Linked DNA regions of Homo sapiens: regions 1, 2, 3, 4, 6 and 7 are each linked to region 5. Evidence: promoter capture Hi-C in human tissues and cell types (Jung and others, 2019). All regions are on one chromosome and are shown on one strand. The core of a region is centred on a gene start or on the middle of the fragment in contact, and the rest is flanking DNA. Distances in the headings are between cores, read along the strand shown. Region 1 overlaps CCBE1 (collagen and calcium binding EGF domains 1). Region 2 overlaps CCBE1 (collagen and calcium binding EGF domains 1). Region 3 holds the start of LOC105372151 (a long non-coding RNA gene). Region 4 overlaps CCBE1 (collagen and calcium binding EGF domains 1). Region 5 holds the start of CCBE1 (collagen and calcium binding EGF domains 1). Region 6 overlaps CCBE1 (collagen and calcium binding EGF domains 1). Region 7 has its middle 74 kb from the start of PMAIP1.

Region 1 (4,004 bases), core at 1,444-3,943, 200 kb after region 5:
TCAGGTCTGCCTGTCTTTAAAACAGCTGCCTATAACCACCATACCATGTGACGTCTCCACATTTTATACTTGTTAATAATTCTGATTCAGTCAGGCCTCTTGAACATAGAGGCTTATGTGACCACTCAGCAGGGATACAAAATGAATGTCCTAGGTCGGCTGCTTAGCTGGACAAGGTGGCTGAGTTGCCGAGCAGCCCCTGGATTCTGGATCTTGGACAGCTTGCCTGGACTGCCTGAGTCTCCGAGTTCTTCATCACAAACAGAGTGAATGGTATTTACTCCAAATAAAGTTGAATATTTTCAGTCCCATTAGGCAGAAGATGGTAAAGGTGATGGATCTGTCACTATTTTATACAAGAAACATGACTGAGGTTACACCACATGCCAGGCACTGTTTTGAGTCTGTCCTTTGCTCCTGTCAATCCCTAATTCCTTCTATACCCTGTAATACAGCAAAGGAGACAGGCAGGAAGAATGAGAGACTGGAGAAGATACAAAGAGAAAATTATGACACTTATTTTTATAAATAATATCTTGGATAGGTTCTTCCCAAGGAGAGAATTCTTGCCAACTTCAGGAAAAACATGTTGAGCATGTGTGATTTGTCAGACACTGGGCTAAGTGCTCAAGATAGTGGAGACTCAACCCCTGCCTTCTAGGTGTTCATGGTCAATTAGAGGAGACACAGTGTGGATGTACAATGGTAGACATCTGTATAGCCTCCTGTAACCCGTAAGATATTCTCTACAGAGCCACCCTTATCACAGAGACTGAAGCTGTAATTGTCAGGGATCAGACTTAAGACACCAAGGCACTATCTCTTAAAATTTGCAAAAAGGAAAAAAAATTATGATAAGTGACAAACTCCATAGGACTCAATATAGAGATGGGGTAGTTTCTCTCTTCTAATTAAACAATGCTTCCACTATCAAAGAGCCTAAGTTGTTTTAAAAGAGTATACCCTACACCAGGAACATCTCTTCTTGGGCCTTGGAAGTCCTGGTTGAGTTTAGTCACGTGTTGACCAGCGTGTGATCTACTCTTTGAGAACCACCACTTGTGTAGGTTTGTCCAGAGGTCATTACCACCCGAGAGCGGCAGTTGCCTGGAGAACCAGGGCGGCCGCAGTGCCCCCTCGTACATCTTGGGCTGTCATACCGAACTTACTGTGCGTGCCACATCTAAAGGCACATCAGAGGGTCAGAGGGTCATCTTCCTTTTCCACGTGTTTGCAAAAACACTTCCAAGTCATAGCTGCTCACATATACCAATGTGTGGAATGACCAAGACAAGTTTCTTAAAAAAAAAAAAAAAAGGCAAGCACCCAGGGATGGCGTGGGCCAAGGACATGGCTGGGGAGATGTCCACGTGGCCTAACTGGGCACAGTAAAGAAGCCAGAGAGTTAAAAAGGGAAGAGCTAGTCAGGGAAGTGATGTCAAGGATGCCAACAAACTGGCTGTCTGAACCTGAACAAATCACTTTCCTATTTTGAACCTCTGTTTCCCGCTCTGGAAAAAAAAAAAAAAAAAGAGGCCCTGGACTTGACTGTTAAGGTCTCCCCTTGCTCAAGAATTCTCTGGGTCTGAATAATTATCCAAACCGATTATCCAAAGTACATAAACGGTGATTAACCATGTTAATCACAGTTACGTAATTGTTATATGAAAGTGTGAAATGTTCCATGAATGGCTATTTTTTTTTCAGAGAAAAAGTATAGGTCAAAAAAAGTACACCTCCATCCTCAGGGGAAAAAAAGAAACATGAGCTAGAAGGAATTATTTTAAGACAGATCTTACCTGTTGCCCCAGGCTGGAGTGCAGTGGTGTGATCTCGGGCTCACTGCAACCTTCGCCTCCCAGTTTCAAGCAATTATCCTGCCTCAGCCCCACAAGTAACTGGGACAACATGCCTCGCTAATTTTTTGTATTTTTAGTAGAGACAGGGTTTTACCATGTTGGCCAGGCTGGTCTCAGACTCCTGGCCTCAAGTGATCTGCCTGCCTTGGCCTCCCAAAGTGCTAGGATTACAGGCGTGAGCCACAGCACCTGGTCCCTCCCTGGGTGCATTTATCCATTGTTGGCTTCATCTGCCATGCTGCAGGTCGTCGCTAGAGCTCCATGCCCTGCCTTGCCCTGGAGCTGCCTATAGCCTAAAACATATTAAGCAGCATGTTCAAACTGAATGTAATACCTTCTAGTCATCCCCAACTCTGTGCTGTAAAAATCTTTTGTAATTAGCTCTCTTCTGATTTAATTCATATTCATTCATGGCAACCTCATCCCCCAGGCAGCTCTACAAAAATAAATCTCTAGTCTTGGACTTCTCTGATTTTTTTATTCTGTATATCCAGTGTGTTAGGAAGTCCTACAGATTTTAACCCCAACATTAAAAAAAAAAAAATCTGTCCTCATTTTTCAACTCCATGCTCTTATCTCTAGGCTGAAATATTTTAGTAGCCTTTTTAACGACTCTGTCTGTAGTCTTTTATTTCCAGCCTCTTATGCCCTACAGATTAAATTAGGTTCAGGTTTGGGAGAGACATCCTAAAGGTTGTCTAAGGATCATCTGAACCAAGGATGGAGAAAATTATTCCCCAGAGGAAAGCTGAGCTTGCACAACAGAGAAAGTGGATTTGGGCCACCCTGGAGGGGCAGGGCTGGTAGTGAATGAGGATGGGTGCCCCTTATGTATATCTTTCTAGGGCAGAGGCAACTCCAACCTATGTATTTCCCTGGCTCCTGAAATTGAGTTTATCCTCTGTACTGAGAGGACACATTACACTTCTGTTACGAAGCTTGTATTGCTCTGTCTTGTGTGTCCCTAGCCAGGTGTGTTAGTCCATTTTCATGCTGCTTCCTGAGACTGGGAAGAAAGAGGTTTGATGGACTTACAGTTCCACATGGCTGGGGAGGCCTCACAATCATGGTGGAAGGCAAGGAGGAACAAGTCACATCTTACATGGATGGTGGCAGGCAAAGAGAGAGAGCTTGTGCAGGGAAACTCCTGTTTTTAAAAAATCATCAGATCTCATGGGATTTATTCACTATTACTATAATAGCATGGGAAAGACCTACCCTCATGATTCAATTAGCTCTTACTGGGTTCCTCCTATGACATGTGGGAATTGTGGGAGATGCAATTTGAGATGAGATTTGGATGGGGACACAGTCAAACCATACCACTAAGCATATCCATTTCTCCCACATTGCTCGTTTACCAAATGTAAATCTTACTAATCTGTGTCTCCTGTAACACGCAGTTCAGGGAAGAGGTGGGCTCTGGAGCCCAGCAGCCTGGGCTCATGTCCTGGCTTAGCTACTAATTTTAACAAGTGAAGTGCTCTATGCTCCAGCTTCTCACCTGTTAAAAAAAAAAAAGTTTTTATGAGAATTAAATAATCTATGGAAAATGCTTATCTTGGTATATAGTAAGTTCTTCTTTAAGTCAAACTTAATATTTCCAGTTTTTAACTGATCGGAATAGAAATTTTTACTGTGATATTGGGTCACTGTGAAGTTCAGAATTTAAAACAAATAGAAGGTTCCTCCTCTCATCTGTAAATGATTTAAAGTAGAAATCCTACTTTCGGTGTTACATGAATTTCTCCTTCCAGTGACTTAGGCCTGAATTAATGTCCATTGTATTTCATTGTCCTTGAGGATTTTATGCATGTGAGGAATGGGATCTGTCACATCATGATTTATTAACCTAAGAAAGACTATCTCAGATCACTTCCCTTTTTGTCTTCTCAAAGTCATTACAAGTGAAACTCTCTCCTTTAAGACTGTCCCATTAATTTCTCAAGTGACTGACCTGCAGACGAAACTTGGAATCAGCAAATTGTATTTACAGATTCCTGTACTGATCTATCTCCCTGGAAATGCCACATTTATACAGTGAACTGCAGCAGAAAGGCCGAGCGCCACTGGAACTGCCCACAGTGTGGTGGGAGGAAGGATCACAGCCCTGTCCAAGCAGAGCCTCCTTTCACATTGGGTAAT
Region 2 (3,733 bases), core at 1,144-3,643, 220 kb after region 5:
CAGAGTTGAGTAGTTGCAAAAGAGATCTACAAAGCCAAAATATCATCTGGCCCCTTAACATAAGTTTGCTGACCCCTGCTAGAAGTGATGTCTTGATTGGCCAGGTGATAGGATGATCTCATTTGTTCTACTTCAGCAATTATTAATTCAGCATAAACTGTGGGAAGGGAGCAGTACTGGTTTCTCAAGGGGACACAGTCCCTGCCAGGTAGCTGAGCAGTCATAAGAACCAGCAGCAAAAGAAGCAGAAGAGCAGGTAAAGCTTGTACTGTGCATCGGGCACAGTGCTTAATGGCATCATCCAATTTAATCTTCATAAAAGCACCATGAAGTGTGGGTATTATTATCTTTATTTTGTAGGAGCTGAGGCATAAAGAACCCAGGATCACCGAGATAGTGGCAGAGATGGGAGGGTTGTCCCAGAACCTATACTATGCACCCTAAAGCTACATACTTCCTGGAATAGGGCCTGGCACAGAGTAAGCATTCAGTAAATGTGGAAGAGTAGCCAGCCGCAGTGGCTCACGCCTGTAATCCCAACACTTGGGAGGCCAAGGCGGGCGGATCACCTGAGGTCAGGAGTTCAAAACCAGTCTGGCCAAAATAGTGAAACCCTGACTCTACTAAAAATACAAAAATTAGCCAGGCCTGGTGTCTGGCACCTGTAATTCCAGCTACTCCAGAGGCTGAGGCAGGGAGAATTGCTTGAACCAGGGAGGTGGAGGTTGCAGTGAGCCGAAATTGTGCCAGCGCACTCCAGCCTGGGTGACAGAACGAGACTCCATCTCAAAAAAATAAATAAATAATAAATAAATATAGCAGAGCATGGGAATAAAAGAGGTATAGAGTCCCATGGGCGGTGAGAGGGTAGACAAACTAAACTCTGTTGAGGAGGTCAAGGAAGGCTTCTTGAAGGGGTAGCATTTGTATCAACTCTTGAAAAACTGGATAAGATATCAACAATTATAAAAGGACATTGCAAGAGGTAAAAACAGAATAAACAAAAGTATGGAGGTGAGAAGGCAAGGATGTGAATAAGGGGTGAAGAAAAAGAGAAGTTAGTTTTGCTGCAGTATAAGGAACTTACAGATAAGTCTCAAGGTTAGAAAAGTCTCAAGGGATATAATGCCAGAACTTAAATACAGGAGCGAACCATTTATATTTCATGTTGATTAGTAGCAAGTTGTAAAGGTTTTTAAACAAGGGGATGGTGTACACAGTGCTATGCTTTGGGAAGGTTAGCCTGGCAGTGTTATCCCAAATGGATTTAATCTTGGGATGGTAAGAATCTTGGGATGAAGATCTTGTTTACAAGGGAGTTTCTGAAGGTCTGAGTTAGAATGGTGCCAAAAGAAATAGGACAGAGAGGATAGAAAATAGATACACTGTAAAGATAAAAGCTACATGACTGAAAGCTGGTAGGCTCTGGGGAACAAGCATCAAAAATGGAGGACTGAATAAATTCATTAATCTTGCCTCCTCCAGAAAATGCACAAAATGGGCAGGGCAGGAGGAGGAGGCTGGAAAGATTCACAAAAGACAAACCCACGAGGACAAAATGGGAAGAGGAGATAATAGCAATAAAACTTTGGAAGCTGGAGAACAGAGAGGGAGGTGGTAAATAGCTTAGCACAATCCAAAAGGTTGAATTGTAGCCAGCTTAAGGAAACCAAGGAGCAACCCCAATTTACACCAAAACAAACAGTAATCAGTAACACTACAAATAAACTAGAAAAAGGGGTAAAAGTAGTGTGAAAACAGGATTGATTAAAAGTTTAAGAAGAAGTCAGACTCCTGGATCTTGTCCTCTGCTCCATACAGACAGGATATTGCCTTTTCCACAACCAGACAGAAGACAGAAGATATATTTTCTAAGAGAGTACACCAGAGGTTCAAGGATCTGAAGGAGACCAGTCAGCTGAAAATGAATGCCCAGTACTGAAAAAGGAGGGTTTCGGTAAATGCTCACACATTGAATTTTGAAGCCCTCAGCCTTCTCCCTTCACTTGAGTTCCAGAATGACTTCACTCTCAGGCAAGGATTTGGAAATGTCTTCTGTGGGCATTCTAGACAACCCAAGGAAAAGGTCTTAAGAAACTGAACTTGTAATGCACTGGCCAAATCACTTACAGTGATACCCAGATGTCATAAAATCATAAAACTATATGCAAACAGATTCTATTAATCTGTTTTAAATACACCGTGAATAAACTAGAGCAGCCGTCTCAGGATCATCAGATATTAGAGGGAAACTACCATTTGGCCCAGCAGTGGTATATATTCAAAGGAAAATAGATCATTACACCAAAAAGACACATGTATTTCTATGTTCATCACCGTGCTATTCACAATAGCAAAGACATGGAATCAACCTAGGTGCCCATAGTAGTGGATTGGATAAAGAAAATGTGGTACATATACACCATGGAATACTACACAGTCATAAAAAAGAATGAAATCATATCTTTGGCAAAAACATGGATGGAGCTGGAGGCTATAATCCTAAGCAAACTAACATAGGAAGAGAAAAACACAAGTACCACATGTTCTCACTTATAAGTGGGAGCTAAACATTGTGCACACATGGACATAAACATAGGAACAAGACACTGCAGACTAGTAGTAGGGGGAGGAAATAGTGGGAGGGTTGGAAGGTGAGTAGTCGGGGGAGGAAATAGTGGGAGGGTTGGAAGGTGAGTAGTAGGGGGGAATAGTGGGAGGGTTGGATGATGAGTAGTGGGGAGGAAATAGTGGGAAGGTTGGAAGGTGAGTAGTGGGGGAGGAAATAGTGGGAGGGTTGGAAGGTGAGTAGTAGGGGGGGAGTAGTGGGAGGGTTGGATGGTGAGTAGTGGAGGGCGGAAATAGTGGGAGGGTTGGAAGGTGATACTGAAGAAGTTTTCCAAGCACGAGAGCAAGAGATCAAAGAAATTAACAATAGGGAAAAAAAAAGATGAGAATATTAGACATAAAGTCCAGGGGATGCAACATCCAAATAATTTAAAATTCCACACAGAGGGAGTAAGTTCTTAAAGATATAATTCAAAAAGTCTTCAGAATTGAAGGATATTAATTTCCAGATTATAAAAAGGGTTTACCAAAGATTGAAGTGGTACCATATAAGTCCTAAAAATTTTTAGGGAGGAAAAAAGATGTGATTCATACAAAAGCTCAAGAGTTTGAATCTCACAGGACTTCCCTGCAGCAGCATTGAAAAGCTGGAAGACAATGGAACAATGCCTTCAAAATTCTGAGGCAAAGTTTTCCAACCTAGAATTATATACACAGACTATCAGTAGTAATCATAAGGGTTGATAAAGTATATTTTAGACATGCATGATCTCAAAACTTTTACCCCTTTTATGACATTTTTCAGGAAGCCAATGGAGAATATTCTCCACTAAAATGAGGGAGTAAACTGGAAGAGAGAAAGACATGGATATATGGTTTGGCTGTGTCCCCACCCAAATCTCACATCGAACTGTAATAATCCCCACGTGTCAAGGGCAGGGCCAGGTGGAGATAATTGAATCATGGGGGCAGTTTCCCCATACTGTTCTCATGGTGGTAAGTCTCACAAGATCTGATGGTTTTATAAATGAGAGTTCCCATGCACAAGCTCTCTCTTGTCTGCCACCATGTAAGACATGACTTTGCTCATTTGCCTTCTTCCATGATTGTAAGGCCTCCCCAGCCATGTGGATCTGTGAGTCAGTTAAACCTCTTTCCTTTATAA
Region 3 (4,080 bases), core at 365-2,864, 230 kb before region 5:
TGGCATAACATGAAAATAAATTATCCCTTAAGCACTACACCTAACTCTAAAAAGAAAATGCCTTTCAAAACAGCTAGGCTCAAATAAAGTATTCCGAGACTTCCGTAAGGACAGTCCTAGAATGAGCCAGTGCCCCTGGAGAGCCCGTGTTTGAACAAAATAGCACAGTTCTGGCCGGGCGCAGTGGCTCATGCCTGTAATCCCAGCACTTTGGGAGGCCGAGGTGGGCAGATCACAAGGTCAGGAGATCAAGACCATCCCAGTCAACATGGTGAAACCCCATCTCTACTAAAAATACAAAAATTAGCTGAGTATGGCGGCACGTGCTTGTAATCCCAGCTACTCGGGAGGCTGAGGCAGGAGAATCACTTGAACCCTGGAGGCAGAGGTTGCAGTGAGCCAAGATCACGCCACTGTACTCCAGCCTGGGCGACAAAGCTAGACTCCATCTCAAAGAAAAAAGAAAAAAGAAAAAAATAGCACAGTTCAAACCTTTCTCTGTGGTACTTATGTGGATTAGTTACAATTATGATGTCACTACTTTCAAAGGAACGATTAAAATTATTATTAAAAACATTTGTCACAAACAGAAATGCCCTGTAAATCATATTACTGCACACAGGGTTATCAGGAGCTAGGCACATCAAGACCTTACGGCCTCTAGAAGACCAAGAATAGAGACCCTAAGGGCATGACTATGGCCACTCCTGCCAACATGCCCACTGCCAGGTCACTGTCATTGTCTCGATATCACTCTTGAATGATGACTTGGTTAGCAGGCTGCTGTCCATAAAGTCCTGCATACGAGTACTGGTAGGGCACAGCATACGCCTGTCCATTAGCAGCATAGACAATTTGAGTTCCTGGCAGGCACACACCACTGTATGGCTCATAGCCCTATTCCTCAGTGGCTGGTGCAGCATAGGCCGTGTGTGGTGGAGGGGAGGAAACCACGGGTGTCTCATCAGTCATGACTGTGGAGCCCACATAGGCTGTGTTTGTCCTGGAATCTTGGAGTGTAAATTTCCAAGCCAAGCAATCACTGTGTTTTCTGCACAAAGACTAATTGTTTTCCCATCTGAGCAAACAATCTGCAGCATGCAGTCTTTTTCCATATATATATATCATATATATAAATTATATATGATACATATTTTAATAAGAATATTATATATTATATAATTATATTTAAATATTAATGTATATTATATTTAAATATAATTATATAATATATAAGTATTATTTATTATACAATATATAATATATATTTTATACATTTTTTGGGGGGGAGCAGGATCTCATTCCGTCACCCATGCTGGAGTGCAGTGGCCCAATCTCGGCTCAATGCAACCTCCACCTCCCAAGTTCAAGCAATTCTCCTGCCTCAGCCTCCCAAATAGCTAGGATTACAGGTGCGTGCCACCATGACTGGCTAATTTTTGTATTTTTAGGTGAGACGAGGTTTCACCATGTTGGCCAGGCTGGTCTCGAACTCCTGACCTCAAGTGATCCGCCTGCCTCGACCTCCCAAAGTGCTGGGATTACAGACATGAGCCACCACTCCCGGCAGTTTGCAGTCTTTTGACTTTCCATGCAGAGGCTGACTATCCCGACATTCCTGCCTGGCAGGGATATTGAGGCATTCCACTTGCATGCGGACCTTATCCTCAACACTCTGCCAAGTCTGGTCATCATAATAGGTCAGGTACCATCTGACCACAGGTCAAACCAATTCTTATTCCAGAACTTCAATATAGCACTCTGTTGCAGCAACCAGCCACTCTTCAGGCCATCTCTTCACCCACCAGCCAGAGTGGAGAATGCAAAGACTCCACTGGGTTTCCTCAGCTCCAACTGTCACACCAATATCTATTCTTCTAATGTAATACTGCATTTGGTTTGTGAATATTTTTTCTAGAACTTTTACACCTATATCCATAAGTAAAATCAACCTATAGTTTTACTTTTGAAATATCTTTATTGGCTTTTATAAAATGTAATGCTAGCTTTCATAAAATGAATTGGGAAACATAAGATAATTTGGGGTGCTTTTCATCTACTTCTAACGAATGATCATTAAACTCTTATGAGCCAAGGAGACCTTTAAAAATTTAATGAAACCTTTGGACTTGAGCCCTAGAAAATAGTATGTGCTCACTTAAGCTTAATTTAGCATACAATTTACAGGGGTTCTTCAGATTTTACTCTGCATTACAACCCTGGCCACTAGAAGAGGGACTGAGTATGTCTTCGTCACCATCCAGCACTTAATGGAGGTGCTGGGGGAATGGGGCACCCGTTCCCCATAGTTTGCCCTGTGTGTCTCTTCATTTGGCTGTTCTGAGTTGTATCCTTTATAACAAACCAGTAAATGTAAGTAAAGGGTTTTCCCATGTTTTTCCATCAAATTCTCAAACATGAGGAGAAGGGCATGGAAACTCCTGATTTATAGCCAGCCAATCAGAACCAAAGTGCAGGTGGCAACTCAGGACATGCGATTGGCATCTGAAGTGAGGCCAATCTTGTGGGACTGAGCCCTTAGCTATGGGACCTGCACTAACTCCAGGTAATAATTATCAGACTTGAATGGAATTGTAGATCACCCAGTTGTCCGAAGAACTAGAGAACTGCTTAATGTGAGGGGAAGAAAAACAAACCCACACACATTTGGTATCAAAAGTTTTGTGAGTCAACACATTTCAGGCACCAGTAAGCTGCTGGAATAGTGCCCCCTCCATTTCCCCAGGTCACTAATGAAGTGGAGGAAAACTGCAGCCTCTTTCTCCCTTCTGTCTTTTTTCCTGCTAAACTAAAACAGACTGGAAGCAGCGTTTGAATTGGTTTTTGTTTTACTCATATTCCATGCAGCTAGCTTCTCTGTATAAAGGCCCCATGCACTTAGAGGAAAAACATCTTGCTTCAACTTCCACCTATGAAACTAGAAATTTTGCTTTTAATCCAGCTAGTGCAGTAGATTTTACACTACCTATTTTTCAAGTAAGAACATTGAAATGTAACATTAATTGGTCCAAGTTCACACAACATTGCAGCATCAGGGCCCAACGGGGAAGGCTACTACAGCAGTTACTGCTTCGGGGGACCACCACTGCATCACCCCATATACAAGGTGTTCAATCATTCTCCTCACACGCGTATCTTTTTCTAAATCCACCCACATTTGAGAAGTTTCTCTGGTTCAATTATTTCATGGAGGAGGCAGAGATGGCTCACCTCAAGGAAGTCACACCAGAGTGGGGAAGAAGGGACAGAAACCCAAGAGTAGGAATCCTTCTCCCAAGCACACAGTGAGAACTAGGTTGGCAGGAGTTGAGTGTCATTAAGCTTTTAGTCTCCCATGTATGTCTTATCAGGCCCCACAACAATTCTTTGCGGAACGTTCAGGAAGAAAAGGTCACATGATAAACAGCTGTGTCTTCCCCTTCCCTAATCTCATTCACTTACCTCCAGAAACATGTTTCATTCTGACTAAGTCTTGGCCTAGACATTCTGTGATCTCAGACTTATCAAACGGCTTTGACATTAAGCTTGGTCTTTCTTGCCAATTATAGATTCCTTTCTCTGTTAAAACAGCCCTCTAGCTCAGAACGGAATTTCAACACCATCCCTGGACTTTCCCTTTGGGCAGGTCTAGGAGCACTCAGCAAGATGATTGGTTCAGCAACTGTGATTGTGACAATGGGTTTTCAGTATGAATCTTTTCTAGAATTCTGAGGCACCTGTTAGGAAGCGTGCTTGGGCTTGTGAATCTCCAAGACAGGCACTCATTTTCTTGTTTAGGCCTCTTGTGCAACTGGCCTCATTTTTTAAATTCACATATTAGTTTTTTCCCCACACCGATAGTTTCTACTCTTCCTAGAAAATGTGATGCTAAAACAGAAAAACAGTGGCAGACTTATGTCCATGGAAGATGATAATACCTAGCTGATTATTAGTAACAATAGCAGCAAACACTTAGGTAGCACTTACTTCATGTCAGGTACTGTTTTAAGTTCTTTCTATATATTAACTCTTTTCATCAGCACAGCAACCCTATGAGGTAGGTCTAGTGTTATTCCTACT
Region 4 (4,266 bases), core at 1,420-3,919, 190 kb after region 5:
GTAAAAGATTCAGGTCCAGCATCTTTGAGCCTCAATTTTCGTATCGGTAATATGGGATCCGTAACTGTTTGGGATGAGGCTTTGTAATCTAAATGTTGCTATGTAAAAGATGCAGAATTGGTCCCTCCCTTGAAGGGCTTATGAACTGACTTTACAAATTTGCGATAGGCATATGGTGTGGTGTATATGAGGGTTCATTGGAAAGGATAGTAAAGCCACGGCCCCATGCAAGATGGTGATGATACTGCTGTTCTCGTTGTGGCTACTGGGGTCCCTGCAGGCTGAACTGCATATCAGCAGAGCTGTGCAAGTCCCCTGTTCCTCCAGTAGCTAGCCCGTGATGGCCCAAGTGTGGCATAGGGGGTCTTCTCTCCCCCTGCTTCCTGGGAGACAGCCGGGCATAACAGAAGGAGCACAGGCTTGGAGCCAGTCAGACATGAGTCTGAACTCCAGCACTGAGCCCCCATTTCCATGTCTCTAATATGAGGTACAAAGCACTACTTGAGATAAGCCCTCTAATGTTACCATTGCCAGGCCCGTCCCCGTTTTCTCTAAAGTGTAGCCATTGCTAATTTTCAGGATAGCCAGAAGCTATCTTCTCTGTCACCTCGAGATTCATGGGCTATCTCTGCCACCAAAAGTTCCCACCCAGCAGATCACCCCTGTCTTCCTTGATGGAACTAGGAGCTGGCCACCTGTCCTGCCACCTGCCTCCAGACTTACCTGACTGTGGTGTCGGAAGTTCCACACTGAAGTTAGGCCTGAGCAGCCTGAGAAATTGCCACAAAGGAAGTATACAGTTGAAAAGCGTCCTTTCCTGGACAGCCAGACAAGAGAGACACCTCAGTACCTGGACTTGTCCCTCCTTTGGGGCCTGGATTACTTTCCCGCTAATTCTTCCCAACACCTGCACCTGTGCCCTTTCTTGAATTTTTTTGTTTTGTTTTGTTTTTTTGAGACAGTCTCTCTGTCACCCAGGTTAGAGTGCAGTGGCACAATCTCCGCTCACTACAATCTCTGCTTCCCCGGTTCAAGCGATTCTCATGCCTCAGCCTCCCGAGTAGCTGGGACTACAGGTGCCTGCCACCACACCCAGCTAATTTTTGTATTTTTAGTGGAGATGGGGTTTTGCCATGTTGGCTGGGCTGGTCTCGAGCTCCTGACCTCAAGTGATCCACCCGCCTCCCAAAGTGCTGGGATTACAGGCATGAGCCACTGCTCCTGGGCTCTTTCAATTTTCTTAAATGGACAAACCTCACCCTCTGCTTTAAGAAAACCACACATCCTCCAAAGAAGTCTCATTTTCTTTTTTCCCTCCTGTCGTAGAGGTGCTCTGATGTCTCCTGCCCAGGTTTCTCAGGCTGTGGGTGCAGGATGGGCTCTGAGTGGGAGGTAAGAGGAAAGGGGTGCTGATGTTCCCACATCTTCACCCTCCAGTGAGAGCCGTGGGCCTGCTCTTTGTCTTACCCGGGATTTGTTCCCTAAACACATATCTCAATAATACCCTTTTCCTCATCAACAGCCAGCCAGCTCCATGTCATCTAGCAGACAGTGTGCTGTTTCTAAGAGCAGGACCCTGAGAAAGTCCCTGAGAGTGGAGACTCCCCACTATGGGGTCTTTCCTGCCCTGGGCCTGCCAGCACCACAGGAAGGCGCTCAGCACTTCGTGCCTCTCTGTCTGTCATACAGGGAATGGCACGTGGCCAGCACATTCTTTAATTCTGTTCCTCTAATGGATGAGTTGAGGGCAGTGGGGTTTCTAACTCCTGCTGAAATTAGAAAGGTTCCCTTGTACCCCCTTGCAGGGCATGCAGCAGGCACTGTTGCTCTTTGCTTCAGTGCCCCACTGCTCAAACCTTGAGGGGAGCATACAGATGGGCAGGTTGTGGGGCTCCAACCCCACGGCTGTGTCTAGGGGTAGATGTTTACAGCTCCTGAAGCCCCAGTGGGCATGTGCTATCATGTGCTCTTTCAGTTTTGCCATCTATAGGTGGCTTGTGTTAACCAGGTCAATTAGACCCTGGGCACAGGCCCAGGGATGGAGCCCTAGCCAGGGACCACACCCTTCTCTACCCAGCACTTCGCTTCTTTGGTATCATTTAAAGGGACCACACCTTTCCCAGCACTTCCCTTCCTGCCTTCCTTCCATATCACACCGCTACTGTAGCTCTTAACGATTGCTGGAAGTAGAAACTTGTGTAAACTACCTCAGGTGAAAAAGAAGATTTATCATATGGCTACAGAGGAACTATTAAGCCCAAAAACAAAAAATGAAGGATACATGAGCCTCATGTGAACAAGAAATGGAAATCAAGGGCTAAGGTCATTTTCTCCGTCTCATGAAATGCCTGTTCTGTCTCTCGATGGATTCCGAGTCTGTTCCATTTTGCCTCTTTTTGATCATGTTCCTGTGCTTTTCAACTTACATGGATTCCCCCAAATGGCTACATCAGCTATAGAGTGGGTAGAGTTGTGCTCACAACAGCCTGCTGATGACATCAATCTCTTATGAAGAGAGGTTGGTTAATGGTTACAAATATGCAGTTAGAAGAAATAAGACCTAATGTTTGACAGATCAGCAGGGTGACTATAATTAGCAATAATCGATTGTACATTTCAAAGAAGCTAGAACAGAATAATTTGAATGTTCCTCGTGGAAAGATAAATGTTTAAGGTGATGGATATCCCACTTACCCAGATTTAATCTTTACACATTATATGAATGTAAGAAAATATGTACATCTGCTGTGTATCCATAAAATAACTTTCAAACCTCCTAAGCAAATTTGATTGGCTCAGCCCAACTGTAAATGGATCTCTTCAAGGCTGGTGTTCACTGATGATGGAGCAAGAGGTTCTAAAGTGTGATGTGGGCAAGGGCCTTTCAGGAGCTCTGAATATGTCAAGTTCTCTAGAACTAGAACATAATCGTTATCATTCTGATTAAATGCCATCAATTAGTGCCATCATCAGTGCTCCACTGCTCGTCTTGAACTTCTCTGTCTTCTGTATCTTTGTATCTCTGAAGTTGGAATGTGTTTTTATTGGCAGTTAGTTAGGCACCAGTTAGGGTATAGTTGCCAGTACTTGCAAGTGCACAAACAGCAAACATAGCAGCATAAAAACGAAGTCAGGGTTTCAGCTGCTGGAAAGAAAGTCCTGAAGACACAGGACTCTGGTAGGGAGTGGTGAATCCCTTGTCTTCAGCAGTATTCTCAGAGCAGGGGTCAGACATAGGCTCTAGGTCCTTCCAGAGCCAGCTGAATGGGGCTGGTACTAATGACTGGTAGCTCTCACCACCGATGCTCCTGATGGTATAAAGGACAGTGTTTTGTGATAAAGCTCAGGAGCTGATGACAGTAAGAGAGATTCAGGAGAATCAGAATCCATATGCAAAGACATTTTAAGACCATCTTAACTAGTCTATGTTTCTTTATGCATGCATGCAATATACAATAATCAGGAAAAAATGTATTTTAATCAATATGGAAGAATTTTAGTGATAAGGAAGCATTTATGAAAGTTGAATTGGCAACTGGCCGGGTGTGGTGGCTCCTGCCTGTAATCCCAGCACTTTGGGAGGCCGAGGCAGGTGGATCACCTGAGGTCAGGAGTTCAGGACCAGCCTGGCCAACATGGTGAAACCCCGTCTCTACTAAAAATACAAAAATTAGCTGGGTGTGGTGGCGGGCACCTATAATCCCAGCTACTTGAGACGCTGAGACAGGAGAATCACTTGAACCTGGGAGGCAGAGGTTGCAGTGAGCTGAGATCACGCCATTGCCCTCCAGTCTGGGTGACAAGGGCAAAACTCCATCTCAAAAAAAAAAAAGTTCAATTTGCAACTTAAAAATTATTCATATTATAAAGACTAATGGTGCATCTTACAATTGATAATGTCTCAGTTAATGAGCTTCCATAACAACAGTAGAGGTGGCAGAATTCTGAACTGCAAATATCATTAAATCCTAATAAACATAGCACCCTGCTCCCTCTGTCAGAACTCATGCACACAGTGAAATATGGCTAATGGCCCCAGCATCCTCTGCCATTCACACAGCAGCAAGGATCAATGGACTTGCAGGAAAAATAGATACCCAGATAGATTTGTCTCTCACAATCAAAGGAAAAGATGTTTCCTCCTCTTTGCAGCTGGCCTTCCCAGTGTTGGCGGTATTTGGATCTGCCATGATGATAGCTCACATTTCACAATTTGAACTCCCAGCACCAGTGCAGCTTGGTGTTTGGGTTCCGTGATGTTTTTTT
Region 5 (4,306 bases), core at 1,208-3,707:
TAATGAAACTGATAATTAATCTCCTATACCACGCTCTGTTACTTGTAGAACTAACGTCCACAATGCAACAGTAGAAGAATAAAATGCGTAAAGATGAGAAAAAAGACAGCAAGTTGTCAAGATACAGTAATTGGTAAGGAATTAAAAATAGAACCTCCTACCAGATTACAAGATGGCCTCTCCCTTCCAAGATGGATATCAAACACTTTTTTGTCACAATCTGAAGAGATACAATTATCATAAGCCCCAGAAGGGGTTTCTTCCTCATGTGCTTAGTGAGGTCTGTCTTTAGGAACCCAAACAACTGTTATAAAGTGGATTCCTATATATCTAGGAAGTGAAAAGCTAGAAGGCTAGAAGGCAAAAACTTAAAGTTCTGTGCAATACAATAATTACGTTACAAGTAATAATGTTTACAGGGCACTCAACATATGCCAGGCATGATAAACAAAATGCTATAGAAGCATTGCTTCATTTAATACTCATAAAAATTGATGAGAGATATTTCCCCATTTTACAGATGAGAAAACAGAGTGTCAGAAGTAAATTGCTTCAGATCACTCCTCCAGGAAACCAAACAGCCTGAGTTTGAATCCAGTTTTTTCTGACCTCATGGTTTTTTTTTTCTGACCTCATGATGATCACTCTCCAGTTTTGCAACATCCTGAAATGTCTTCTGAATTATCAAATAAAAATTAACTCATTTGTGTTAAGTAGCAGTGTCATATTTTAATATCAAGTGGGTGGTCTTCCGAATATGTAAGTTTTGTAAAATAAGCCAACAAAAAACACACCTCACAGAACTAAGAAATCAGATGCTCAGATTGAAGGGATATTGTGGGAACCAAATAAAATCTTGAATATGAAAAATCTTAGGAAAAGACATAGCATTCTACGGAAGAATGACAATGTCATTGCTATCAAAAATATCAGTGTGGGCTGGCTGCTATGGCTCACGCCTGTAATCCCAGCACTTTGGGAGGCCGAGTTGGGCAGATCACTTGAGGCCAGGAGTTTAAGAGCAGCCTGGCCAACATGGTGAAACTCTGTCTCTACTAAAAATACAAAAATTAGCCGGGTGTGGAAGCATGCATCTGTAATCCCTGCTACTTGGGGTGCTGAGGCAGAAGAATCTCTTGAACCCGGCAGGCGGAGGTTGCAGTGAGCCAAGATCGAGACACTGCACTCCAGCCTGGGCGACAGAGTGAGACTCCGTCTCAAAAAAAAAAAAAAGTCAATGTGTATGTGATATGTGTGGTAATTCTCAGTTGACCAGCATATTCTGTATATCAAAATATGTGCTTACCTAACCAATTTACACACCGGTCACTTGTGAACAAGCCACCTTTTTACCTCGTTGTCCTGTGAGATGCAGAACCACGCATATTTTAGAGCTTAGGCATTAGAACTTTTCCTTTTTCAACTTATTTCTGGGCCACATCCACGTCCCCAGTTTCTCTGGAAAAGGCTGAGAAAACTCCTAAAGCGCAACAAAGTGTTAAGTTGCTGACACACGAATTACAATTAGGGTCACCGTCAAGGGAGCCGATTTACGGCCCCCCTCCTCCGTTTTCTTGTTACCTATCAACGCGGCTGCATACACTAGCAGGTAGCAGCACCTGTAATTAATTTGCCCCCACGTGTCTCATTTGATGGGGGGGGGCGTTTCCAGCTCTGATGTGCGCGGCGTGGAAACAGTATTAAAGCCGCTCAGGACAAGGAGATGTAAGGCTCCCAGAAAGACCTCCTTACTTGTTCCGAACTCGAGTTATGAAGAAGACAGCGCATGGTTTATTGACCAATGAAACAACCAGAGAACTTTCTTCTAAAGGTTTTAAGGAAGAGTGATTACACTATATAAATAGCGCTATTTCAGGTTTGAACAATTTGAGAGGCCCGTTGTAGCCTTTCAACTCCTCCTTCCTCACATAATCTAAGAGAAAAGAAGACTAAGATAGTTGCAAATCTCAGGGTAGGTCCTCACGGAGGAAAGACGAACACTGGCCTGACCCTGGGCTTTAGAAACCCATGGACAACAGGAAGGAAGCTTATTAACCCCTCTCTTCCCCCTCCCTCTTCTCCCCGGTGGAGAATCAGCTCCTCCTCCTCCCGGTCGTGAGACCCTGGTGCAAAATGCAAACAACCGCCCGCTTTCCCCACCCTGCGCGCTTCTCCCAGAGGAGGGAGAGGGAAGAGGCGAGGGCGCAGCCCCAAGCCGAGTCCAGCAAGTCTGTCAATCGGACGTGAACGTCCCGACGAGACAACTTGAACCTCAGGGCCCTCGCGCCAGCCGGACACCGCAGGTACCCCCTTTACCTGCTTCTCTGCTGGGTTTGCATCCGATACCCCAACTCCTAGCCTCATTTTCCCCCCAGCCCCATAATATTCCGGACCCCTGCTCCCCGTGCAGGTGGTGCAAACGCCCCTGCTCTCCGGCGCCCCCTGCCGGGAAGAGGGAAGGCGGCGGCGGCCGCGGAGGAGCAGGACGCTTGGTCCGGACGGAGCTCGGCGCTGGGAAGAAGCCGGGAGCTTCCCTGATGGTGCCGCCGCCTCCGAGCCGGGGAGGAGCTGCCAGGGGCCAGCTGGGCAGGAGCCTGGGTCCGCTGCTGCTGCTCCTGGCGTTGGGACACACGTGGACCTACAGAGAGGAGCCGGAGGACGGCGACAGGTAAGCGCTGCAAGCCCCAGCGGAGGGCGAGCTCCTGCTTGATGCGCGCCCGGCTCGCGGGGTGCGGGCGGTCCTCCCCGGCGCCCACTCCCACAGCGATCCGCACGCCCTCACTTCTCCGGGGATAAGGAGAGTGCTCAGCTGTCCTGGGCGACACTTCCCTCCGCTCCCGGGTATCAGCCTTTGCGCCCTGCCATCCGTGGGTCGCGTCAGGGATACCCTTCGCCCCGCGTTCCTGCCTCCCCCCGGGTGCCACACTGGCTGGCACAGCTCGTGAACCCCGCTTCCTTTCTCCTGGAGCTGGTTCGCTTCGTCGTGACCCTCGCGTGGCTCGTCCCTGTGGCCGGAGTCTGCCCCGCGTACGCGTTTGGGGACCAGCCCCTGCCCAGAGCGCCGGGACGGGGAGCCTGGCGATCCCCACGCGCCAGGGATTCCCCAGCGCGCGCTGCCCGCCTCCGCTCTCCCGCTGAGAATCGAACATTTCCTCTGCACTTTTTCATAGAGAAATCTGCTCAGAGAGCAAAATCGCGACGACTAAATACCCGTGTCTGAAGTCTTCAGGCGAGCTCACCACATGCTACAGGTAAGCCTGGGGGCTCTGCGGGCTGTTCGCCACTGCGCACCGGGGCTGGCTGGGGAGGCGGCGCTGTAAAGGAGGGGTTTGGAGACGCGCTTGGGACCGGAGCAGCTTTTACGCTGGAACCTGCTGGGTGCGTGCCGCGCGGTGCGAATCTTTGAGGGTTGGTTGGATCGGAGTCAGAGCAACACTGAGCAACTGACTTTGCGTCTAGGGTGTGTGCCCTGAGATCCTGAGGATGGTTGCCGCTCCCTGAAATACTTGTGTGGAAGTCTGTGAAGGAGATTGGATTGGATTTTGGGTGTAAACAGTGGGGCATAGCAAACACGGGTGGCTGCTTTCGTATTTGTGTTTTGTTTTGAAAGTACAGCGTCAACAAGGCAATTCTTGGCACTTGTCTGTCTTCTGACCTTCTGTTGGGGCAGAGTGTGGCTGTCACGGCCTCTGGACAAAAAAGTAGGGGGAGGATTGTGAGTGGTTGTGTTGAGTGAAAACAAAAAGATTGTTGGGGCAGAGGAAAAAAGTCTTTCTAAAAATGTGGGCCACAGATTCACCTGGGTATTTGTTAAATGAGTGACCCGGGTGCTTGTTAAAACTAAGCGTGGATGGGGCTAGGGAATCGGTAGTTATAAAATGTTCCCCAGGTGGTTCTTGTCTCTGAAAGGAGAGAACCACTGTTCTGCTTGCAGCCTTTTGGAGATGAGGGTTGATTTAGGTTTTTCACCATTGAATTCTTGGTTCTGTTCCAGTGCTCTCACTGGATAGGGGAACATGCACCCATAAACGTTTATTGGATATCTGCGTTTTAGAGGCGCTGTACAAGGTAATGTGATCATATGCCCACACCTGACTGTCTCTGGAGACTCACATGCTCTGTTCGGGTTGCCAGGATAAATACTGAGTAGTACAAGGTAACGCAGCAGTCCCTAGAAACGAACTTGAAAGAAAACAATGTTTTATTCCTTATAAGGTTGTAGCCTGTGAATCAATCATAGCGTTTCTTGCAGGTGAGAGCATTTCATATACCCAAAGGTTCAGACCAAGTGGTTCCACGGCTGTCA
Region 6 (4,028 bases), core at 228-2,727, 150 kb after region 5:
TTTGAGGCTAGATTGCCTCTGTCACAACCACTCAGCTCTGCTGTTGTCACTCGAAATCAGCCATAGGCAATGTGGAAACAAATGAGTATGGCTGTGTTCCAGCACATTTTATTCATAAAACAGGCAGTGGACTGGATTTGGTCCATGGGTCATAGTTTGCCAATCCCTGAATTAGAGGAAGCTTGCCCACCAAGAGGCTGCTCCAGAGCTTGTGGTGGTTTTGCTGGCTTGGGTATCTATAGGGTTTGAATGATGACACAGTCTCCAGGTAACTTTTGTGTAAACAAGCTAAAGCTGGGGATAAACAAAGCAAACCGGATTGGACCCAGAGATGCTTTAAGGATTCCTGAAAGTGCCCATTCCAATAATGTCCTTGCCCGTTGGCTCCAGAGAAAGCCAGGCAGCAGTCCAACAACCATCTGGCACAAGGTCCTCTATTGTATCCTTGGGCAAATTACTCTGAGTCTCAGCTTGCTTATCTGCATGATGGGGAGGATAATGGGCAGACTCTGCAAAATGAGTGGGCCACTAATGTCACATTGCTGTACTCTTTACCCCATGCCTATTGAGAAGAATCAATTTCAGTGCAATCACTGACCAATGTGGATAGCAGCTGTAGATTATAAGTGCTTTGTTGTCCACAAATTTTGCTAGGGACAAGTTAATTGCCCAACTGGGTACTATATCACTGCAGCACATTTGACTGCTGGGCCTGCCTGTTCATCATATAATAATTGGTGTGTTCTGGCATCTCCCTCCTGACAGTTGCTCAGGTATTAACAGAAGTCAGTGGGACTTGGAGTAAGGTCTTTGCTGTTCCCAAGGTCTTAATCACCTGACTGACAGAGGTTACCTTCCTGAGCCCCGGTGCACCAGATGGAGTTTATTTTAAAAATCAGCTTCAATTACTGCAATAAAATATTAGACGCTCTTAATTCGGTTGGCGTTGGGGGACCTGTTTTTATAGCCCTTGGTGGGGTGCTCATTTGTATCATTTGCTCCTTCAAACTGGAGTTTGACCTGAAATTCTTTAGGAGATGGCATAATAAGAAAAACAGAAGAATAAGAAGAATGGCTTAGCTAAAATTTGCATTCATCCTGATGCATTATTTTTTACCAATGTTACATTTCTAGAACACTGCTATATTTGAATCATACCTTGCTATTTTGCAGTGTGGAATATTTTATACTTGATCACATGTGAAACACGGTGTGGTCTATATATCCAAGTGAAAAGAAGACCCTCACCATGCAAAGTGAATTTTTTTTTTTTTTTTTTTGAGACGGAGTCTTATTCTGTTGCCCAGGCTGGAGTGCAGTGGCATGATCTTGGCTCACTGCAACCTCTGCCTCCCAGGTTCAAGTGATTCTCCTGCCTCAGCCTCCCGAGTAGTTGGGGTTTCAGGAATGCGCCACCATGCCCGGCTAATTTTTGTATTTTTAATACATAGGGGGTTTTGCCATGTTGGCCAGGCTGGTCTTGAACTCCTGGCCTCAGGTGTAACTTTCCTATGTTTAGATGCACAAATACTTACCATTGTGTTACAATTGCATACAGTATTCATTAGTCACATGTACAGGTTTGTAGCCTGAGAGCATAGGCCACACCATATAGCCTACATGTATGGTAGGCTATTTGAACACCTCAGGTAATCTGCCTGCCTCAGCCTCCCAAAGTGCTGGGATTACAGGCATGAGCCACTGTGCCTGGCCCAAAGTGTATTTCTTTGCTTGTGGTGTTCTTGGTTGTAAGGGCTTTCTGCAATGGGTTGGTCAGTTGGTGATTTCATTTGCATGACAGCAGCTGATTTTCCCTATGTAGGGTCTCTCAGGAGGGCTTCCTAGATTTCTTTTTTATATGATTGCGTCTTGTCAGATCACAGGAAATTTAAGTTGCTCTGTTCTTGTTCTTGAAAGGAATCCTGATGACCTAGCCACACCCTGCAATCTCTATTCACCCTAACCCACCTCCTTCATAGGCTGGAAGATCAAAGCCATCCTCTTAAGTTTTCCTTTAGATATAACTCACTATCTTTAAATAATGGAAACCAGAGAAATCAGAAAGTATCCATATAATTTTATTGTCTTCATGTCAGTACAAATGTTCCCACCTGCTCTCCTAACAAAGATATCTTTCTTTTAAAGGAAAGACCACTGAGTGAGAGTGAAGGGGCATAGTCTTGGCCCCAACAAACCACTGGCCAGTGATATGATCTCGGACCTCAGTTGTCTTACTCATAAGACGAGACTGTCTTGGATAAACTCTTGGTCTCTCTCCAGCACTCTTGAACATTTCATCCAGCAGATAGTTCACATCACGTGATGGCACTGTGACCACATTTTCGGTTCTTTAAAGCACTTCAATTCACTGAGTGTCTATTTCTTCATTCCAACCACAAGGAGAATAAAAGTGCAGTGTGTGAAAGTAAAATTCTTCAAAATCCTGGCCAAAATGCCCGTGTGTTCTTATTTCGGTCAGGTTGCACTTTCCTGTGAGAACAGGATGATCTCGGTTTTCTCCTGCTGAATCAGCTGTGGCAGCCAAGCAGGAAGAGCCTTCCTAGTGCCCCAGCACTCTGCTTCTGTCAGCATGCTTCTGGGCCGCCCAGACGTAGCCCACACCACTGGAGGTCTCACTGTTTGCATACATTTCCTTTGTCTCGACCATTTCATGAAGTGTAGCCAGAAGTACTGTCAGCACTCATTAGACCAAAATTGTCTTCAGCTCAAAGCAAATATTTTGTGTGTTGAAATCTTTATCAGGTGTGTGATCCACGTCCCAGGAGTGCTTTTAATGAGCTGTGAGATGTTGGTCATCTGTCACCTTCAGTTTTTTGTGCTAATTTAAATTGCTCTGTTCTTGTGGCTGATGATGCCCTAATCAGAATCTTCAAAGCTGCCCTCTCCCTGGGGCCAATTTTCTGTCTGCTATTGCCTTCTGGACATGTCAACTGCTAGTTGACATCTTGAAAACAGGGCTCTTTGTCTTATCCCCCAAATCAACTTAACTTGCCCAGTTTTAATTTCTGCCAGGAGCTCTACTGTTTTCTCTAAGGTCAACTCGAACTCCAGATCTATGACTGCTCTGTCTTATTTTTTCCACCTCCCTGCTCCCCTCAGATAACCCTCCCCTCACCTGACCTCAGGTGATCTGCCCGCCTTAGCCTCCCAAAGTGCTGGGATTACAGGCGTGAGCCATTGTGCCTCTCTCTCCCTCTCCTTTTCCCTCTCCCTCCCTCTCTCTCCCCTCTCTCTCCTTTCCTCTCTTCCCCTCCCTCTCCCTACCTCCCTCTCTCTCCCTTTCTCTCCCCCTCTCTCCCCCTCTCTCCCCCTCTCTCCCCCTCTCTTTCTCTCTCCCATTCCTCTAACCACAGCCCTGATGGTCCTGCTTTAAACCCCATGTAATTCTCACCTGGGCTTTTACAATATTTTACTAACAAATTCACCTACCTTTCTTCTTTTAATCTGTTTTACTGCTAGAAAAACAGAAAAAGAATGGCCAAGCTCCACAGATTGGATGAGATTGCTATGGATAACTCAAAGTTCTGTTGATTTAGATAAAAGATTGTTTTAAATTACTATAGACACAAAGCCTAGAAGTAACATATTTGACTATGTCACTTTTGCCATATAGAAGATTAACATGTTTAAAATGCAAAGAACAGACTAAGGAAAATATTTACCAGATATAATGTGGGAAGGGATTTGGATTTCTTAACTATAACAGGTTTCTACAAATTAGTAAGAAAATACAAAAATAGATCAAGGATTTTGTTTCTTTTATCTATTGCTGTTGAACAAACCACTTCAAATAGTTTGTTCAAATGGTTGTTCAGCTCTTTCTTCATATGGCCTTTCCTGCAGGGGACTGGGCCTCTGTGAAATGGCATAGGGTTCTAAGAGGGAGCTACACAAAGATAAAAACCCCACTGTACAAACCCTTATCAAGCCTCAGCTTGGGCTATGATGACTAATTCACTGTTGACCAGAAAGAAGTTACATGGCCAAGCCCAGAGCCAATGTAGGAG
Region 7 (4,245 bases), core at 71-2,570, 130 kb before region 5:
GACCCTAAGAGAGGGTTCTTGGATCTCGTGCAAGAAAGAATTCGAGGCAAATCCGTAAAGTGAAAGCAAGCTTATTAGAAAAGTGAAGGAATAAAGAATGGCTACTCCATAGGCAGAGCAGCAGTATGGGCTGCTCAGCTAGGAAACTTACGGTTATTTCTTGATTATATGCTAGAAAAAGGGTGGATTATTCATGAGTTTTCTGGGAAAGGGGTGGGCAATTCCCAGAACTAAGTGTTCCTCCCCTTTTCAGACTATATAGCGTAACTTCCTGACATTGCCATGGTATTTGTAAACTGGCATGGCGCTGGTGGGAGTGTCTTTTGGCATCTAATGCATTATAATTAGTGTATAATGAGCAATGAGGATGACCAGAGGTCACTTTCATCACCATCTTGGTTTTGGTGGGTTTTGGCCAACTTCTTTTTTTTTTTTTTTTGGCTGAGATGGAGTCTCGCTTTGTTGCCAGGCTGAAGTGCAGTGGCTCGATCTCAGCTCACTGCAACCTCTGCCTCCCAGGTTCAGGCAATTCTCCTGCCTCAACCTCGTGAGTAGCTGCAATTACAGGTGCATACCACCACACCTGGCTAATTTTTGTATTTTTAGTAGAGACAGGGTTTCACCATATTGGTCAGGCTGGTCTTGAACTCCCGACCTCATGATCCACCCTCCTTGGCCTCCCAAAGTGCTGGGATTACAGGTGTGAGCCACTGCGCCCAGCCTTGGCCGACTTCTTTACCGCAAACTCTTTTTTTTATCAGCAAGGTCTTTATGACCTGTATCTTGTGCCAACCTCCTGTCTCATCCTGTGACTAACAATGCCTAACCTCCTGGGAGTGCAGCCCAGTAGATCTCAGCCTCAGTTTACCCAGCCCCTATTCAAGATGGAGTCGCTCTGGTTTGAACACCTCTGACATTTCTGTTTCTCTGGCTTCTGAGGTTTCAGAACAATTATCTTCAATAGGTTTGTGTGGCTAGACTTGCAATTACTTGCCAGAAATCAATCTTTGTATATGTGGTTTGCTGCTATTGGTGGGTCATCAAAAAATGACAAAAAGTGGCCTCAGTGTTACCTGTGTGTCCACGTAGACCAAAAGGCCTATTTTGAGTGATATTTTGGAACATCTCATGTTCTGAAATGTGTGGAAAGCAAGCCACTGGTTGAAGGAAGACTGATTCTGGTGGTATAAGTATAAAGAACTTAACCTCAAGCTGGGGGCTCCCATTGATGTGACCCAAGAATCAATTTCAAATAAAGGGGAGTGCTGAACTTGCTTTCAAGATAGTATTAATATTTACAGACACATCTCAAAAGAAGACATACAAGCGGCCAACAAACATGAAAAAATGCTCAACATCACTATTCATCAGAGAAATGCAAATCAAAACCACAGTGAGATACTGTCTCATGGCAGTCAGAATGGCTATTATTAGGCCATTTATGCCTAGTGTTCCATTATTGGAACGCTAAGCTTGTGGAAGTTGTTTATATCCTACAGCTCAAGGTCATTGCCCAACGTCTAGTTTAAAAAAAAAAAAGAGCAATCTCCAGCATAAATAGGTTAAAAAGTAAAAACTAAAACAAAAACAAAAAAAAAAAAGCAAACAGATGTTGGCAAGGCTGCAGAGAAAAGGGGAGGCTTATACACAGTTGGTGGGAATGAAAATTAAATCAGCCAGTGTGGAAAGCAGTTTGGAGATATCTCAAAGAACTTAGAACAACCATTCAACCCAGCAGTAATTCCATTACTGGCTATATATCCAAAGGAAAACAAATCATTCTACCACAAAGACCCCTGCCCTTGTATGTTCATCACAGTACTACTCACAGTAGCAAAGACATGGAATCAATCTAGGTGCCCATCAATGGTGAACGGGATAAAGAAAATGGTACATATACACCAAGGAGTACTACAAAACCATGAAAAGTATGAAATCATGTCCTTTGCAGCAACATGGTTGCAGCTAGAGGCCATTATCCTAAGTGAATTAACACAGAAACAGAAAAATACCAAATATTCTCATTTATAAGTGGTAGCTAAACACTGGGTACACATGAGGCCGGGCGCGGTGGCTCATACCTGTAATCCCAGCACTTTGGGAGGCCGAGGTGGGTGGATCACCAGGTCAGGAGTTCAAGACCAGCCTGACCAATATGGTGAAACTCCGTCTCTACTAAAAATACAAAAATCGGCCGGATGTGGTGGCAGGCACCTGTAATCCCAGCTACTCAGGAGGCTGAGGCAGGAGAATCGCTTGAACCCAGGAGGCAGAGGTTGCAGTGAGCCGAGATTGCTCCACTGCACTCCAGTCTGGGTGACAGAGCGAGACTGTCTCAAAAACAAACAAACAAACAAACAAACAAACAGAAACGTTGGGTACACATGGACATAAAGGCGGGAACAATAGACATCTACCAGAGGGACTACTAGATGGGGAGGGACATACAGAGGTAAGGACTGAAAAACTACCTATTGGGTACTATGCTCACTACCTGGGTGCCGGGATCAATCATACCCCAAACCTCAGCATCATGCAATAGGCCCATGTGACAAACCTACATATGTGCCCTTGAGTCTAAAATAAAAAGTAAAATAAAAAATAGATAAAGTGGAACAACATCCCCCCAATTTTTTTCATTAAAATGAAATATAATTATTTCACGAATTGGCTATATATATATATATATATTTTTTTTTTTAAATATACTTTTTTTTTTAAAGAAGTAAGCCTTTATTTTCTTGTTTTGCAAATAAAGCTGGCTGATTTAGTTGCTTTTTGGTGATTAGTCAAAGAGACCAAATCCTGTATCCTCATCCAATTCCTCTAACTCTTCCTTGGCTTCAATCTTAGCTGAGGCTGCAGCAGCAGAAGGAGCAGCTGTGGTGGCAGTGGCCACAGGGGTAGCAGCCGCAAAGGCATATGGATCAACCAAGAACACCTTGAACTTTCCAGCAAGTGGGAAGGTGTAATCAGTCTCCACAGACAAAGCCAGGACTCATTTGTACCCACTGATGGTAGAATGGGGTACGGAGGCAACAGCTGGATAACCAATCTGCAGACAGACATTGGCAATGTTGCGGACACCCTCCAGGAAGTGAGGATTCAGAATTTCCTCTGTGATGTCAAGCACTTCAGTATTGTAGATGCTGCCATTGTCAAACACCTGCTGGATGACCAGCCCAAAGGAGAAGGGAGAGATGTTCCGCATGTTCAGCAGTGTGGCTTCGCTGGCTCCCACTTTGACTCCAGTCTTGATCAGCTGCACATCACTCAGGATTTCAGTGGTGCCCAAAGGTTTTAGTGATGATGCCTAAAGCCTGGAAAAAGGAGGTCTTCTCAGCCTGTAATCCCAGCACTTTGGGATGCCGAGACGGGCAGATCACCTGAGGTCATAAGTTCGAGACCAACCTGACCAACATGGAGAAACCCCATCTCTACTAAAAATACAAAAAAAAAAAAAAAAAATTATCCAGGTGTGGTGGCACATGCCTGTAATCCCAGCTACTCAGGAGGCTGAGGCAGGAGAATCGCTTGAACCTGGGAGACAGAGGTTGTGGTAAGCCAAGATCGTGCCATTGCACTCCAGCCTGGGCAACAACAGGGAAACTCCATCTCAAAAAAATAAAAAAGGAGGTCTTCTCAAGGATGGCCTGGCACAGTGACATCACATGGGGCAATGGCACCAGCACAGGTGGCTCCTGGCACCTTACTGGCTACCAGCATGTCCCTGATCTCAGTGAGGTCCTCCTTGGTGAACACAAAGCCCACATTTCCCTGGATACGAGGCAACAGTTTCTCCAGAGCTCGGCTGTTTTCCAGGTGCCCTTGGATGGCCTTGAGCATCATGGTTTCTTGCCCATCAGCACCATGGCCTTCCCTCGGAGGGACTTGAGGATCTGCTGCATCTGCTTGGAGCCCAGATTGTCTGCTCCCACCATGAAACATTTCGGATAACCATCCAAAAGCTGGATGATCTTAAGGAAGTAGTTGGACTTCCAGGTCACCCTGTCTTCCGTGGGCATCACGACGGTGCGTCAGGGATTGCCACATAGGATTTAAAGACGATGTCACTCCTGCGAGGACACCTGGTGAGAGAAAAAAAGATACTGTTTACAGGTGACAATAGCTCTCATAGCCTAGCTCCTGATGCTGAGTGCGAAGATTCTAGAGCCCAGTGAAATATCCTTTAGTGCTCCAAGAGCTATTGCCACCTGTAATTACCTGGGAGGACAAGAGATGGCG

Evidence for each region. The method cuts DNA at HindIII sites, captures the fragments that hold promoters and counts their contacts. A contact is called where the count stands out against the background at its distance.
Region 1: a contact is called between a fragment that was not itself captured here and the fragment with the promoter of CCBE1 in region 5, in 1 of the 25 tissues and cell types used here (heart right ventricle).
Region 2: a contact is called between a fragment that was not itself captured here and the fragment with the promoter of CCBE1 in region 5, in 1 of the 25 tissues and cell types used here (IMR-90 fibroblasts).
Region 3: a contact is called between a fragment that was not itself captured here and the fragment with the promoter of CCBE1 in region 5, in 3 of the 25 tissues and cell types used here (H1 embryonic stem cells, IMR-90 fibroblasts and aorta).
Region 4: a fragment that was not itself captured here is called in contact with the fragment with the promoter of CCBE1 in region 5 in 1 of the 25 tissues and cell types used here (IMR-90 fibroblasts).
Region 6: a fragment that was not itself captured here is called in contact with the fragment with the promoter of CCBE1 in region 5 in 2 of the 25 tissues and cell types used here (IMR-90 fibroblasts and bladder).
Region 7: a contact is called between a fragment that was not itself captured here and the fragment with the promoter of CCBE1 in region 5, in 4 of the 25 tissues and cell types used here (IMR-90 fibroblasts, heart left ventricle, lymphoblastoid cells and 1 more).

Annotation. Positions count from the first base shown.
Region 1 is chr18:59,492,922-59,496,925 of GRCh38, reverse strand. The region is part of intron 2 of CCBE1 (collagen and calcium binding EGF domains 1); the gene reads left to right. Among named protein-coding and RNA genes, the nearest start is that of LMAN1, 140 kb to the right of the region's middle. The HindIII fragment of the contact is 5,575 bases long and covers 1-4,004 here.
Region 2 is chr18:59,472,791-59,476,523 of GRCh38, reverse strand. All of the region lies in intron 3 of CCBE1 (collagen and calcium binding EGF domains 1), which reads left to right. Among named protein-coding and RNA genes, the nearest start is that of LMAN1, 120 kb to the right of the region's middle. The HindIII fragment of the contact is 7,199 bases long and covers 1-3,733 here.
Region 3 is chr18:59,926,938-59,931,017 of GRCh38, reverse strand. It overlaps LOC105372151 (a long non-coding RNA gene), which reads right to left and starts at 3,647. Exons shown (of 3, transcript XR_935546.3): 1 at 3,463-3,647. It also overlaps the pseudogene PLEKHB2P1. The HindIII fragment of the contact is 4,531 bases long and covers 1-3,879 here.
Region 4 is chr18:59,509,993-59,514,258 of GRCh38, reverse strand. The region is part of intron 2 of CCBE1 (collagen and calcium binding EGF domains 1); the gene reads left to right. Among named protein-coding and RNA genes, the nearest start is that of LMAN1, 150 kb to the right of the region's middle. The HindIII fragment of the contact is 8,998 bases long and covers 1-4,266 here.
Region 5 is chr18:59,695,574-59,699,879 of GRCh38, reverse strand. It overlaps CCBE1 (collagen and calcium binding EGF domains 1), which reads left to right and starts at 2,457. Exons shown (of 11, transcript NM_133459.4): 1 at 2,457-2,668; 2 at 3,171-3,251. The coding sequence starts at 2,538. The HindIII fragment of the contact is 11,314 bases long and covers 1-4,306 here.
Region 6 is chr18:59,546,355-59,550,382 of GRCh38, reverse strand. All of the region lies in intron 2 of CCBE1 (collagen and calcium binding EGF domains 1), which reads left to right. Among named protein-coding and RNA genes, the nearest start is that of CCBE1, 150 kb to the left of the region's middle. RefSeq lists an enhancer at 2,413-2,926. The HindIII fragment of the contact is 6,701 bases long and covers 1-4,028 here.
Region 7 is chr18:59,823,805-59,828,049 of GRCh38, reverse strand. It overlaps the pseudogene RPLP0P12. Among named protein-coding and RNA genes, the nearest start is that of PMAIP1, 74 kb to the left of the region's middle. The HindIII fragment of the contact is 4,048 bases long and covers 1-3,344 here.